Linked DNA regions of Homo sapiens: regions 2 and 3 are each linked to region 1. Evidence: promoter capture Hi-C in 16 types of primary human blood cells and fetal thymus (Javierre and others, 2016). All regions are on one chromosome and are shown on one strand. Each heading gives the region's core, a stretch centred on a gene start or on the middle of the fragment in contact. The rest is flanking DNA. Distances are from core to core; before and after follow the strand shown. Region 1 holds the start of ZNF157 (zinc finger protein 157). Region 2 holds the start of TIMP1 (TIMP metallopeptidase inhibitor 1). Region 3 overlaps UBA1 (ubiquitin like modifier activating enzyme 1).

Region 1 (4,650 bases), core at 1,574-4,073:
TTCCGAAAGCCGTGATTGCACCACTGCACTCCAGCCTGGGTGACAGAGGGAGACCTTGTCTCAAAAAAAAAAAAAAGTTATACTTACACTTACGTATTTTATATAGTTTTTGCTATCATTATTTATGCAATTTTGTTTCCATTGCCTCATTGTTATTATAGAGAGAAACTATCTGCTTTTGGCCAGGTGCGGCGGCTCATGCCTGTAATCCCTGCGCTTTGGGAGGCCGAGGTCGGAGGATCACGGGGTCTGGAGTCTGAGATCAGCCTGACCAACATGGTGAAACCCCATCTCTACTAAAAATACAAATATTAGCTGGGTGTGGTGGTGCATACCTGTAATTCCAGCTACTCAGGAGGCTGAGGCAGCAGAATCGCAGAAGCGCTTGAGCCCAGGCAGAGGTTGCAGTGAGCCGAGATCGTGCCACTGCACTCCAGCCTGGGCGGCAGAGTGAGACTCCGTCTCAAAAAAAAAAAAAAAAAAAAAGAAAAGAAACTATCTGCTTTTGTAATTTTACCTTGTATCCAGCCCCTTACATTATATTATACCCTATTAATTTTAGTAGTCTTTTAGCAGTCTGGTAGGTTTTCCATGTATAAAATCATCTTATTGGATAGAAAGCTACATTTTCGTTTTCATTTCTTCCCAATGTTCATGTTCACCCTAATTATTATTTTCTTTTTTCTTTCTGCCTTTTTTTCTTTTTCTTTTTCTTTTTTTTTTTTTTTGTTTTGTTTTGTTTTGTTTTTGGGGTGGAGTCTTGCTCTGTCACCCAGGCTGAAGTGCAGTGGCGTGATCTCGGCTCACTGCAGTCTCTGCCTCCCGAGTTCAAGCAATTTTCCTGCCTCAGCCTCCTGAGTAGCTGGGATTACAGGTGTGTGCCACCATGTCCAGCTAATTTTTGTGTTTTTAGTAGACACGGGGTTTCACCATCGTCTTGAACTCCTGACCTGCTGACCTCAGGTGATCAGCCTGCCTTGGCCTACCAAAGTGCTGGGATTACAGGCGTGAGCCGCCTCCTCTGGCCTCTTTTTTTTTTCTTTAATAGAAACAAAGTGTCACTCTGTCATCCAGGCTGGAGTGTAGTGGAGTGATCTCAATGCACTGCAACTCTGTGTGTGTGTTTTTGTTTGTTTGTTTGTTTTTTAAGGATACTGGGTTTTGCCATGTTGTCCAGGTTAGTTTTGAACACCTGGGCTCAAGGGATCCTCTTGCTTTGGCCTCCCAAAGTGTTGGGATTAAAGCCGTGAGCCACTGCACCTGGCCTGATTATTTATTTCTTTTCTCTTCTTTTCTCCTTTCTTCCCTCCTTCCTTCCTTCCTTCCTTCCATCCTTCCTTCCTCTCTTTCTTTCTTTCTTTCTTTCTTTCTTTCTTTCTTTCTTTCTTTCTTTCTTTCTTTCTTTCTCTCTTTCTCTCTTTCTTTTTCTTTCTCTTTTAGAGACAAAGTCTTGCTCTGTCACCCAGGCTGGAGTGCAGTGGCGCCATCAGAGGTCACTGCAGCCTCAACCTCTCAGGCTTCTTAAGCTATCCTTCTGCTTCAGCTTCCTTAGTAGCTGGCACTACAGGTGTGGACCACCACACTCGGATTATTTTATTTCTTGTAAAGACAGCGTCTCACTTTGTTGCCAAGGCTGGTTTCGAACTCCTGGACTCAAGCAACCCTCCTGTCTTGGCCTCCCAAAGTTCTGAGATTACAGGCATGAGCCACTGTGCCCAGCCCACTCTATTTCATCTTCTCTTGTGTGAGCTAGAGCCCACAAAACAATTTTGGGTTATAGCAGACAGTACTAATTTTGTGGCAATAGCTTCATCATTTTACTTTTTAGCATGGTGTTTCAGAGTTATGTTTCATAATTGATTTTTGTGGCACTTAAGTTATTTACTTTTTCCATGATTTTAGTTTGAGCTTATATTAGTAATGGCTGCTGAATTGCGTTGGATGCTTTTTTGGTGTAAGTTAACAGCAGAGTGTTTCCCTCTGTAATTTGTTGATGTAATACATAACATTAGGCCTGGTGCAGTGGCTCACACCTGTAATCCCAGCACTTTGGGAGGCCAAGGCGGGAGGATCACTTGAGGTCAGGAGTTCGAGACCAGCCTGACCAACATAGTGAAAACCCGTCTCTACTAAAAATACAAACATTAGCTGGGCGTGGTGGCGGGCGCCTGTAATCCCAGCCACTAGGGAGGCTGAGGCAGGAGAATCCCTTGAACCTGGGAGGCGGAGGTTGCTGTGAGCTGAGATCGCACCATTCCACTGCAGCCTGGGTGACAAGAGTGAAACTCCATCTCAAAAAAAAAAAAAAAAAAAAGAAAAAATACATAACATTATTAAGATTGAACCATTTTTTTCTGGAAAGAAGAGGCTAAAAGCTTCCCAGTAAAAGAATTTAAGAGGGATATTTCATCTAAGAGTGGAAAAAAACAAAAGACGGCAGAAGAAAGGACCAGCCGATTTCCTTTCATTTAGATTATCAGCTTTCCAGGTTTCCTGCCCTCACAGTCACCCACCAGGTCCCCTTGAACCTGCCCACCCCATGGGCCTTAAGCACCCTTAAGCACTGCCCCAGTTCTACTTCTCCTAAACCCAGATCTGCCTTGAACTTGAACTGAGGTGTAGGCTGGCTGAGTAGCGAGTGAAGCACCTGGTAGAGCCACTCAAGAAGGGACCCCAAGCTCATTAATTTGGCCCCAAATTTGATCATTTTGTAATCCACCTTGACTCATGCTCTGGGGATGCTGAACATTGTGGCGTGAATGTGGGATGACACTGATGATATGGATACTGTCCTTTTAGGATTTCTTGGTGTCTCTGTGGAGCCATTGAGCCTTACCCCTTACTGGAGGCTGCAGGACCCTCTACACACAGACAGCTGTCCAGCACGGAAGGTGGGCTGAGGCCCAGGGTGAACATGCCAGCTAATGGGACATCACCCCAGAGATTCCCTGCCCTGATTCCAGGAGAACCTGGCAGATCTTTTGAGGTAAGGAGGAGGATCCTATTTTTTTCTATATGTTCTTTATTTTTTTATTTATTTTTAGTTAAATTTATATTTTGAGATAATTGTAGATTCAAATGCAATGTACCATTTACCTAGTTTTTGTCCCCAGTAGTAACATCTCGTAATACCCAGGATATTGACATGCAGAGCATTTCCATCCCCACAAGGATCCCCCATGTTGTCATTAAATAGACACAACCACTTCACTTCCTCCATCACTCCCCTCTTAACCCTGGGGCACCACCAATCTGTTCTCCAATACTATAATTTTTTCATTTCAAGAATGTTGTGGCTGGACGTGGTGGCTCACGCCTGTCACCTGTAATCCCAGCACTTTGGGAGGCCGAGGCGGGTGGATCACTTGCGGCCAGGAGTTTGAGACCAGCCTGGCCAACATAGTGAAACCCTGTTTGTACTAAAAATACAAAAATTAACCAGGTGTTGTGGCACGCACCTGTACTCCCAGCTACTCGGGAGGTTGAGACCGGAAAATCGCTTGAACCTGGAGGCGGAGGTTGCAGTAAGCCAAGATCGTGCCACTGCACTCTGCCTGGGTGACAGAGTGAGACCCTGTCTCAAAAAAAAAAAAAAGTTTTATTTGCCGGGCATGGCAGCTCATGCCTGTAATCCCAGCTCTTAGGGAGGCAGAAGCAGGAGGATAGTTTGAGCCTAGGAGTTTGAGACCTGCCTGGGCAATATAGTGAGACCCTGTTCTCCACAAAAAGGAAAAAAAGGACAAAAAAGAGAGACTGTTATATTAATCAGATTGTACAGTATGTACCTTTTGGGACTGGCTTTCGTCATTCAGCAAAATTCTGTGGAGATATCAATAGCTAACAGTATATCAATAGTTCATTCATTTTTTTTGAGACAGAGTCTTGCCCTGTCACCCAGGCTGGACTGCAATGGCGTGATCTTGGCTCACTGCAACCTCTGCTTCCCGGGTTCAAGCTATTCTCCTGCCTCAGCCTCCCGAGTAGCTGGTATTACAAGTGCGTGCCACCACACCTGGCTAATTTTTTGTATCTTTAGTAGAGACGGGGTTTCACCATGTTGGCCAGGCTGGTCTTGAACTCCTGACCTCGTGATCCACCTGCCTCAGCCTCCCAAAGTGCTGGGATTACAGGCGTAAGCCACCGTGCCCTGCCCATTCCTTTTATTGCTGATACTTTTCCATCGCATGGATGTACCAAACAGTATAACCATTCACTGGTTGAAAGACATCTTGGTTGTTTCTAGTTGTTGGATATTATGAATAAAGATCCTATAATAGTTTGTGTAAGGTTTTTGTAGGGGTGTGATACTGTGAAATATATAATTGGTCTTTCCTGGCAAACAACTCCTAATATCCTCGGAATCTCTAAAGTACTAAAGTGTCTTTTTGTATGCTAATGAGTTGACTGATGCCTGGCAGTCCCTAGGCAGCTTCCGAATGGGGCTGGTCACCAGAAAGACTAAGGTAGGTTTAGAGGGTTGGGACCCTCCAACCACCTGGGAGGGGAGAGGGTGCTGAGAGTCAAGTCGATCCACAAGGGCAAATGATTTAATCAATCATGCCTACATAATGAAGCCCCCCTAAAGCCCCAAAAGGATAAAGTCTGGAGAGCTTCTGGGTAGCCGAACACATGGGGGTTCCTGGAGGGTGG
Region 2 (4,650 bases), core at 1,379-3,878, 210 kb after region 1:
CAGATTTTTTTGGTTTACTTCCCTTCCTCCCTGTTTTTGTCGCCCCCCCACCCTCCCCCCACCACCCCGCAGCAGAGCCATTTCTTCATTCTCATTCCTGGGTAGGTCACTCAGCCCTTTTGTGTCTAAGTTTCCTCATCTGTATAATGAGAACATGAGCTATATCTAACTCACAGGGATATTGTGAGAAATAAGTTAGTTATTTTGGGAAAAATGCTCTACATGGTATCGGGCATACAGTAAGCCTCGATCCTCAAGAAGTGTTGGGTACTCTTATTATTGGCTTAACATCTCTTCCTTAACTAACATTAATGAACAAAGAGGCAATCGGGATTGATTAAATGAGATAATGTCTGTAAAAAGACTTTAGAACAGTGCTTTTTTTTTTTTTTTTAAATAGAGACAGGGTTTCACCATGTTGCCCAGACTGGTCTTGAACTCCTGAGCTCAAGCGATCTGCCTGCCTCAGCCTCCCAAAGTGCTGGGATTACAGGTGTGAGCCACCATGCCCGGCCAAGTGCTTTCTTAAAAAATAGATTTAGGCTGGGTGCCGTAGCTCACGCATGTAATCGCAGCACTTTGGGAGGCTGAGGTGGGCGGATCACCCGAGGTCAGGAGTTTGAGACCAGCCTGGCCAACATGGTGAAACCCCGTCTCTACTAAAAATACAAAAATTAGCCAGGCGTGGTGGCGTGTGCCTGTAACCCCAGCTACTGAGGAGGCTGAGGCAGGAGAATTGCTTGAACCCAGGAGGTGGAGGTTGCAGTGAGCCAAGATCTTGCCATTGCACTCCAGCCTGGGAAACAAGATCGAAACTCTGTCTAAAAAAAAAAAAAAGATTTAGAAGGCCGGGTGTGGTGGCTCACGCCTGTAATCCCAACACTTTGGGAGGTCGAGGCAGGTGGATCACCTGAAGTCAGGAGTTCGAGATCTGACCAATATGGTGAAACCCCCGTCTCTACTAAAACTACAAAAATTAGCTGGGGGTGGTGGTGGTGTGGCTGTAATCCCAGCTACTCAGGAGGCTGAGACAGGAGAATCTCTTGAACCCCGGAGGCGGAGGTTGCAGTGAGCTGAGATCGCGCCACTGCACTCCAGCCTAGGTGACAGAGCAAGACTCTTGTCAAAAAAAAAAAATAGATTTAGAGGGTACAGCTGCAGTTTTGTGACATGGATATATTACATAGTGGTGAAGTCTGGGCTTTTAGTGTCCCCATCAACCAAATAGTGTACATTGTACCCATTAGGCAATTTCTCATCCCTCACATTCCTCCCACCCAGAATAGTGCTGGATACGCAGTAAGCACTCCATAAGGGCTGCTGGTAGTTTTTGTTGTGTTCTTGTTATTGGGCTATCATCCCTGAGTTAATCAAACTTAATTAGCAAGGGAGTATGGTGAGTGAATGAGATAATTTATACAAACACTTTAGCACATAGTACACAGAAAGTGCTCAATAAGTGGCTGCCATCATCACTACAATTATTATTATTGATCTATCCTCCTCGAATTAAGGATGTTAATCAGAACCCCAGGGAAGGTTCCTGCATTGTCAGAAAGCTGGTGGGCAAGGATTGCCCCACCCCACCCCCCACCAGGGGTACAGGTCCATGGGGAGGGGGCAGGGCAGGATGGGGTGGGGATTAGTTTTCTACTGACCCACTCACTTGCTTCTTTCACCATCATTCATGGCCACCCCCTTCCCAATGCTCATTCATTCACCCGCACCATTCCCTGCTTGCTAGGACGGTGCCACTCCTGAGTTACAACCCTGGTGCCAGGTAGCCTCTGTTTGAATCCCGGCCATGCCCTGTGATCTTAGGAAAATTCTACAGTTCCTCTACGCCCCATATTTCCTCATCCGTAAAACGGGAATAAGAACCGGTACCCATCTCAGAGATTTGTTGTGAGCTTTGAGTGAGATAAACTATGCTGAGTGCCTGGTATACAGTAGGTGCTGTATAAATGCCGGCTATTTGCCTGTGTTATTTGAGACCCTGGCTTTGGCTCCTGGCCACCTGAGTTCCAGTCTCAGTTCTGCCATGTATTGACTCTGTGATCCTGGGTAAGTCACTTAACCACTCCGTGCCTCAGTTTCCCCATTTTGTATTCCTCCCCTTTCACCTGCCTTATCTCCCTCCACTGCTGCTACTTAATTTGTTTCCTCTCTGCCACCCCTCACCAGCATGTCAGACATACAAAACAAGGGATTTTTGTGTGCTTGGCACACAGTAGATGCACAATAAATGTTGAAGGGCTGAACTAATTTGGGTTTGAGTCATAGGGAGCTTGGGGGATGTGGGTGATTGGATAGATTCTGGAGACTTTAGGGGACTGGGCCGGGGGAAATGCGGCCTCTAAGCTCTCCGCTGAGGCGGCTTGGAAGGAATAGTGACTGACGTGGAGGTGGGGGAGGTGGCTGGCCCGGGCGAGGCCCAGGGAGAGGGAGAGGAGGCGGGTGGGAGAGGAGGAGGGTGTATCTCCTTTCGTCGGCCCGCCCCTTGGCTTCTGCACTGATGGTGGGTGGATGAGTAATGCATCCAGGAAGCCTGGAGGCCTGTGGTTTCCGCACCCGCTGCCACCCCCGCCCCTAGCGTGGACATTTATCCTCTAGCGCTCAGGCCCTGCCGCCATCGCCGCAGATCCAGCGCCCAGAGAGACACCAGAGGTAAGCAGGGCCCGGGGTGGCCCAGCAGGGACCGGAGCTGGGCTGCAGCTTGGGTGCTGGCCACCAGGCCCGTGCACTCCCGTGCCAGATGCCTGTCTACTCAGCTTGGCCTGCGGGTACCAGGACCCTGGGCTAGTCTAGGGGGAAGAGGGTCGGAGGCTGGAACTGCTTTCCCAACCCCGAGGCTCCAAACTCCCTAGAACCCCTGACATCCGCCCCCAATTCCCCCAAACCCATGACCCCCTAATATCACAAATGCTTTCCAAATCCCCCCGCAAATTCCTTCATCCCGAAATTTCCCTCATCGCCCCCTAAATACCCACCGCTAACCCCTGCAGCTCCCTAAACTCCCCCAGCTCCCCAATCCCCAGTTCCCCAGCTCCCAAACTTCTTTTGCCCTCAAATTCCTCAAGTATCCCCATTGCCTTAAGCCCCCAAATTCCCCCAACCCCTTCAACCTCCAAACTCCCCCAGCTCCCTAAACCCCCAACCTCCTCCAAATTCCTCAACCTCCCTAAATTCCCCCAGCCTCTTATATCTCTTAATATACACAACCCCTAAACTCTGCCGTCTCCAAACTCCTCCAGCCCCCAATCCCAAATTCCTCACCCCCAAACTCCTCAACCTCCAGAATTCCCCAATCCCCTCATTCCTCAAACTTCCTCAGCCCCCTTCTCCCCCAAGTGCCACAACCCCATAACCCCGCAACTCACTCAGTCCCTCAATAATTTAAACTCTCCCAACTCTCTAAACCCTAAATTCCTCTGCGCTCCCCAATCCCCTTAAAATCCCTAAGCTTACCAACCCCTCAAGCCCAAATCCAGCCCCCTAATCCCCCCCATAGGCTGCCCCGGGGCAAGATGGGGTGGATGACCTGCCCAGGTCAGCAGATCAGCTGGGCCGGGGCCTGCCTGACATCCCCCTTCCCCACAGAACCCACCATGGCCCCCTTTGAGCCCCTGGCTTCTGGCATCCTGTTGTTGCTGTGGCTGATAGCCCCCAGCAGGGCCTGCACCTGTGTCCCACCCCACCCACAGACGGCCTTCTGCAATTCCGACCTCGGTGAGTCCTCACCCCACTCAGCCCACACACTCTGCCTTGGTTTCCCTTTCAGTCCAGTGGGGCTCACCATGGCACTTACCTCTAGAATGATTCCACTCGCCCCTGCACTTCCTCTGCTTTAGCCACACTGGCATCCTCACACTTCCTTGAGTACTCTGTGCCCAAGCCCACCACAGGATCTGCATGCTGGCTGCTCCCTCTGCCTGGTACACTTTCCCCCCAGGTATCCACATGGGTGGCTGCCTCAAACGTCACCTTCTCAGGATGGCCTTCCCTGGCCATCCTGTTTAAAATTTTAACCCCTGCCCCTTAGTACTCCTGATCTCCTGTTAAACAGAAAAATATTCAGTGATACTTGTTATAACACAGTAAGGAAGACCATATTCAGGACCATGGTGATGGGTATAGGAACCACTGCAATGGGATCTTGCAGTCGGTGGGAGAGATTGGGCTCAACACTGAATATAGCATGGGCCAGTGGGAATGTGTAGCTAAGGAGCAGTGTGAGGGTCTGTGGGTGGAAATTACTAAGAAGAAACATCAGGGGTAAGGGGGATTCTGGCTAAACCGACGTAACAGGATTCTTGCTGAAGGCAGGCCAAGGGGAATCAGACATCACCTGGGGGATGGTGGAAGATGAAGAACCCAGTCAGATAGCAAGGATGATCAGGTATTGAGGATGATCAGAGATTGAGGATGATCAGAGATTGAGGATGATCAGGTATTGAGGATGATCAGAGATTGAGGATGATCAGGTATTGAGGATGATCAGAGATTGAGGATGATCAGGTATTGAGGATGATCAGAGATTGAGGATGATCAGATATAGAATATAGGGGTTCTTGCTAAACTGACTTAGCAAGGCTCTCGGCTAAAACTGGATTTTACAAGGAAGTGCACAGATGGGCCTAGGAGGAGGTT
Region 3 (4,650 bases), core at 1,112-3,611, 160 kb before region 1:
GAGGCTGACATGTAATCCTATCCTCTGTCCTCTTCGATTCCTGATAGAGACCCCAAGTTTGTGGAGCGAACACTGCGGCTGGCAGGCACTCAGCCCTTGGAGGTGCTGGAGGCTGTGCAGCGCAGCCTGGTGCTGCAGCGACCACAGACCTGGGCTGACTGCGTGACCTGGGCCTGCCACCACTGGCACACCCAGTACTCGAACAACATCCGGCAGCTGCTGCACAACTTCCCTCCTGACCAGGTAATGCCCAGTTGTTGGGTCCATTTGGCAGAATGTGTTTCCCTGAAATGGGAGCCTGCAGTGTGGGTCCTCCCACTGTGGAGTCCAGCTGTGGCAGGTGCCCTGAGGCATGGGGATCTGAGAAGAGTGATTGATCCTGACCTGCTTTTTCCTCACCCTAGTTCCTTTGAGCAAAGAGGCTTGGTTGCTATTGCCCTTGACTGTGGTGTGGGCTGCGTCATACCTGATTCCCAGTCAGGGCTGTAGGGATTATGGGGGAGAAATTCTGGAGTTAAGAGCACAGGAATCAATATGGGTTCAAATCCAAACTCTACTTGAACTTAGGCAAATCACGTAACTTCTCTCTGTACCTCAGTTTCCTCGTCTGTGAAGTAGAAATAATAGTGATCTATCTCATGGGGGGTTTGGGGAGGATTAACTGGTATTTATTAAAATGAAGTTAGTACAATGCCTGGTAATCCATGAGAGTTTGTTAAATGATGGGCTGTTTAGCACAAAATGGCTACCCAGTGATTGGTAATTGTTCTCTCAGCCAGATCTCTGGTTCAACCTGTGGGACCCTACAGTTGAGGTATTTTGTGATTGGCTCCAGTCCGCATCGAGTGCCCAACCCAAGATAGTGAATTGGGGGCACATCTGGGGCCTAGGTGAAGCGTGAAGATTGTCAGAGAGGCCTTCACTCTCAGGTCCTGTTCTCAAAAATCTCTCCATCCCTTAGCTCACAAGCTCAGGAGCGCCGTTCTGGTCTGGGCCCAAACGCTGTCCACACCCGCTCACCTTTGATGTCAACAATGTAAGTCTCCTTTCTAGGGTCTTCTGGGGTCAGGTGGAGGGTGAATAGGTGGGAAGGAGGTGGCGGCTCCCCACTCGAGGGCTGATGTGCTCACCCTTCCCTGCCCTGCCTTCTCCTAGCCCCTGCATCTGGACTATGTGATGGCTGCTGCCAACCTGTTTGCCCAGACCTACGGGCTGACAGGCTCTCAGGACCGAGCTGCTGTGGCCACATTCCTGCAGTCTGTGCAGGTCCCCGAATTCACCCCCAAGTCTGGCGTCAAGATCCATGTTTCTGACCAGGAGCTGCAGAGCGCCAATGCCTCTGTTGGTGAGGGTGTTTGGCCAGTTGGCCAGGAGTCACCCCACATGTCCCCGGCCTAGTCCAGCCTCCCCACCAGTCCTCTACCCCTGGTTCTGCTCTGCTCTGTGACCCCAGGCCTGAGGTTTACCCACACCTTCCTTTGAGCCTCCCTTTGACATGAAGAGGGTAGGTTGGGGCAAATTATCTCCCTCCCTCCTCCTCCTTCCCACTATCTGGCCCTCAGGAGAACTTGCTGTTTTACTCTTGCTCTGTGTATTTCCCTTAGTTTTGTTCTTTCTTCTGTTTCTTCTTGATCTGTTCATCTAGGAGGTATGATCTCTACCAGCAGTCTCTCTCCCTTGATACTTTCCTGCCTTGTCTCCTTCCAGATCCGCCCCCATCTGTACATCTACCTGCATGTTTCTCTGTGCATCTTCACCCTCCATAGTTTGGGGCTGCGGTTTACTGACACCCCCACCCCACCCCATCTGCATATTTTTTCACCACCCCTCCCTTCTGTATATGATGCTTCTGTAGCTCTGTAACGCCCCCTACATTTACCTTCCTTATATCTCCCCCGTCTTCCTCTCCATAGATCTCCTCCCATTTCCCCTTCCATGGTCCCCATCTTCCTTCTGAAATGTCTACTCCTTCATGTTCCTTTATGTATGTCTTCCAATCTTTCCTTCCATAGCTCTCATCACCTTCATATATTTCTTCCATCTTTCTCCTCCCACCTGCCTCGCCCTCTGTATATACCCCCACTCTCCCCCTTTTATATCTTCTCCATCTCCCCCCATATCTTTCCTCTATGTCCACATCTGTGTATTCCCCCCAACTTCCCCTCCATATATCTTTTTTACTCCCCTTTTCCTCCCTGTATCCTCTGTGTTCCCCCCATCTTGCTCTACATCATTCTTCCCAAGATCTTTACGTCTCCCATCTTGATCTCTCCATCTCCACTTTCTCCTAACATTTTCATTTCCGTTCCTTAGTGTCTCTAGAGAGATCATTCTTGATAGCCTCAGCTCTTTCTCTGTGTTTTTCAGGTTTGTATTCTGCTCTGCTCTACCTCTCCTCCTTGCCCCTTTTCTCTCCCAGGATGTCTCTCCTTTCCAAATCCTTTTTGTACCTGAATACCTTTTGCCCCACCCTGGGCTCTCATTTCCATCTCAGACCTTAGCCTGGGATCTAAAGGGCTGACAGTGTCCCTTTCTTCATGCAGATGACAGTCGTCTAGAGGAGCTCAAAGCCACTCTGCCCAGCCCAGACAAGCTCCCTGGATTCAAGATGTACCCCATTGACTTTGAGAAGGTATGGGGTGGGGCTCAGGACAGGGAAGGAGGATGGGCAAAGCATAGACAGGCTGGAGAAAACAGGAGTATCTGGAGCCAGCCCCGGGCCTTTGTGGGGATCAGATTGTGGGCCTGCCATATGGCTCTGAATGAGTAGGTGTTCCCAGCCATCCCTTTGTGATCTGGGAGAGTCCAGCAGGCAATTGCAGTGGAGGATACACATCTTCTTTATCTGATCCTCTCCCCACTGCCTTCACACCCTCCCCACTCATAACAGGATGATGACAGCAACTTTCATATGGATTTCATCGTGGCTGCATCCAACCTCCGGGCAGAAAACTATGACATTCCTTCTGCAGACCGGCACAAGGTGAGGGGAATCTAAATCTGATGTTCCACCCTCCTCCAGGTTTGAGTTACCCACACTTAGCCCCTCTGTAGACCCTGAGGCTCTTGTACTTAACTACCACCTTCTTTTGTCCCTTCTGTCTCTCAGAGCAAGCTGATTGCAGGGAAGATCATCCCAGCCATTGCCACGACCACAGCAGCCGTGGTTGGCCTTGTGTGTCTGGAGCTGTACAAGGTTGTGCAGGGGCACCGACAGCTTGACTCCTACAAGAATGGTTTCCTCAACTTGGCCCTGCCTTTCTTTGGTTTCTCTGAACCCCTTGCCGCACCACGTCACCAGGTGGGGGCCTGCATCCGAAGCAGGGTTTGGGTGGGGTGTATCTGTGTAGATCTGGTTCTGATTCACGTCATACCCTGTCACCAGGTGAGGGTTTCTGTCTGTGTACCTACCCTTTTTGTGTATCCTTTTTCACTTATTCATTAATCACATTATTTGAGTACGTGCGAAAAGATGGGATATTTGAATTGTGCCCTGGGAGATTATTAGTAACTACACAATAATGGCAGCCAAAATTTATTGGACGCTTCCTACACTTAAGTGCTTTGCTTGCTTCATTAATGAATTCACTCAAATATTTATTGAGCACCTTTTGTGTGCAGGGACTCTTCTAAGTTATGTTCCTCAAGTAGATTATATAAATAACCTATTAAATGATTTTGGAATCAAAAAAGGATAAAAAGAGGCCGGGCGTGGTGGCTTACGCCTGTAATCCCAGCACTTTGGGAGGCCGAGGCACGTGGTTCACCTGAAGTCAGGAGTTTGAGACCAGCCTGGCCAACATGATGAAACCCTGTCTCTACTAAAAATACAAAAAATTAGCCAGGCGTAGTGGTAGGCACCTGTAATCCCAGCTACTCGGGAGGCTGAGGCAAGAGAATCACTTGAACCCGGGAGGCGGAGGTTGCAGTGAGCCAAGATGGCGCCATTGCACTCCCGCCTGGGTGACAGAGCGAGACTGCATCTCAAAAAAAAAAAAAGATAAAGAGGACTTGAGAATACCAGGGGGCGAGGGGATGTATTTGAGATTTTGTGTAGGATGGTCAGAAAAGGCCTTGCTGAAAAGATGACATTTGAGATCAGACTTGGAGGATGTAAGGGGACAAACTGTGCAGGCTTGGTGGCGAGTGGGGACACATTCCAGGCAGAGGGACCAGTTCTTGAAAGGGTACCAAGATAGGGGTGTGCCTGGCAAGTTGGAGGAATTCAAAGTCCCCAGAGTGAGTGTGAGATTGAGGAGGGTAGGAGATGAGAAGAAAACAGAATTTCATTGCTTAGGGTGAGATAGGAACCACAAGAGGATTTCGAACAAAAGAGGGTTGTGATCTGACTAAACACGTCTGCATGGGGGTAGGGGGGATGGAGACAGATGGGGGCTGGACCCTCTGGGATGGTCTCCATCTTACACTCCCCTCTTTGTCTTGCAGTACTATAACCAAGAGTGGACATTGTGGGATCGCTTTGAGGTACAAGGGCTGCAGCCTAATGGTGAGGAGATGACCCTCAAACAGTTCCTCGACTATTTTAAGGTAAGGCCCCTCCCTTACTCTGTCACCCCACCTCAGGGGGCGAGGTGTACACGGTGACTTGCTGGCCTGTCCACCTCCATGACCCTGCTGTTCCCCCTCCCT

The links. Contacts are between HindIII fragments. The CHiCAGO score rates a contact against its expected background, and 5 or more counts as called.
Region 2: the fragment with the promoter of TIMP1 here is called in contact with the fragment with the promoter of ZNF157 in region 1 in 4 of 17 cell types (non-activated CD4 T cells, naive B cells, activated CD4 T cells and 1 more); the score reaches 7.0 in non-activated CD4 T cells.
Region 3: a fragment that was not itself captured here is called in contact with the fragment with the promoter of ZNF157 in region 1 in 4 of 17 cell types (fetal thymus, total B cells, naive B cells and 1 more); the score reaches 6.3 in fetal thymus.

Annotation. Positions count from the first base shown.
Region 1 is chrX:47,367,755-47,372,404 of GRCh38, forward strand. ZNF157 (zinc finger protein 157) reads left to right here and starts at 2,824. Exons shown (of 4, transcript NM_003446.4): 1 at 2,824-2,986. The coding sequence starts at 2,915. The HindIII fragment of the contact is 3,930 bases long and covers 2,374-4,650 here.
Region 2 is chrX:47,579,808-47,584,457 of GRCh38, forward strand. It overlaps TIMP1 (TIMP metallopeptidase inhibitor 1), which reads left to right and starts at 2,629. Exons shown (of 6, transcript NM_003254.3): 1 at 2,629-2,667; 2 at 3,601-3,729. The coding sequence starts at 3,609. The region is part of intron 5 of SYN1 (synapsin I); the gene reads right to left. RefSeq lists a cis regulatory region at 1-159 and silencers at 2,277-2,426, 2,487-2,586. The HindIII fragment of the contact is 9,422 bases long and covers 1-3,461 here.
Region 3 is chrX:47,209,881-47,214,530 of GRCh38, forward strand. UBA1 (ubiquitin like modifier activating enzyme 1) reads left to right here. Exons shown (of 26, transcript NM_003334.4): 18 at 48-243; 19 at 962-1,036; 20 at 1,156-1,345; 21 at 2,544-2,632; 22 at 2,891-2,983; 23 at 3,110-3,301; 24 at 4,447-4,548. The region is part of intron 2 of LOC105373194 (a long non-coding RNA gene); the gene reads right to left. Among named protein-coding and RNA genes, the nearest start is that of CDK16, 6.5 kb to the right of the region's middle. The HindIII fragment of the contact is 8,666 bases long and covers 1-4,650 here.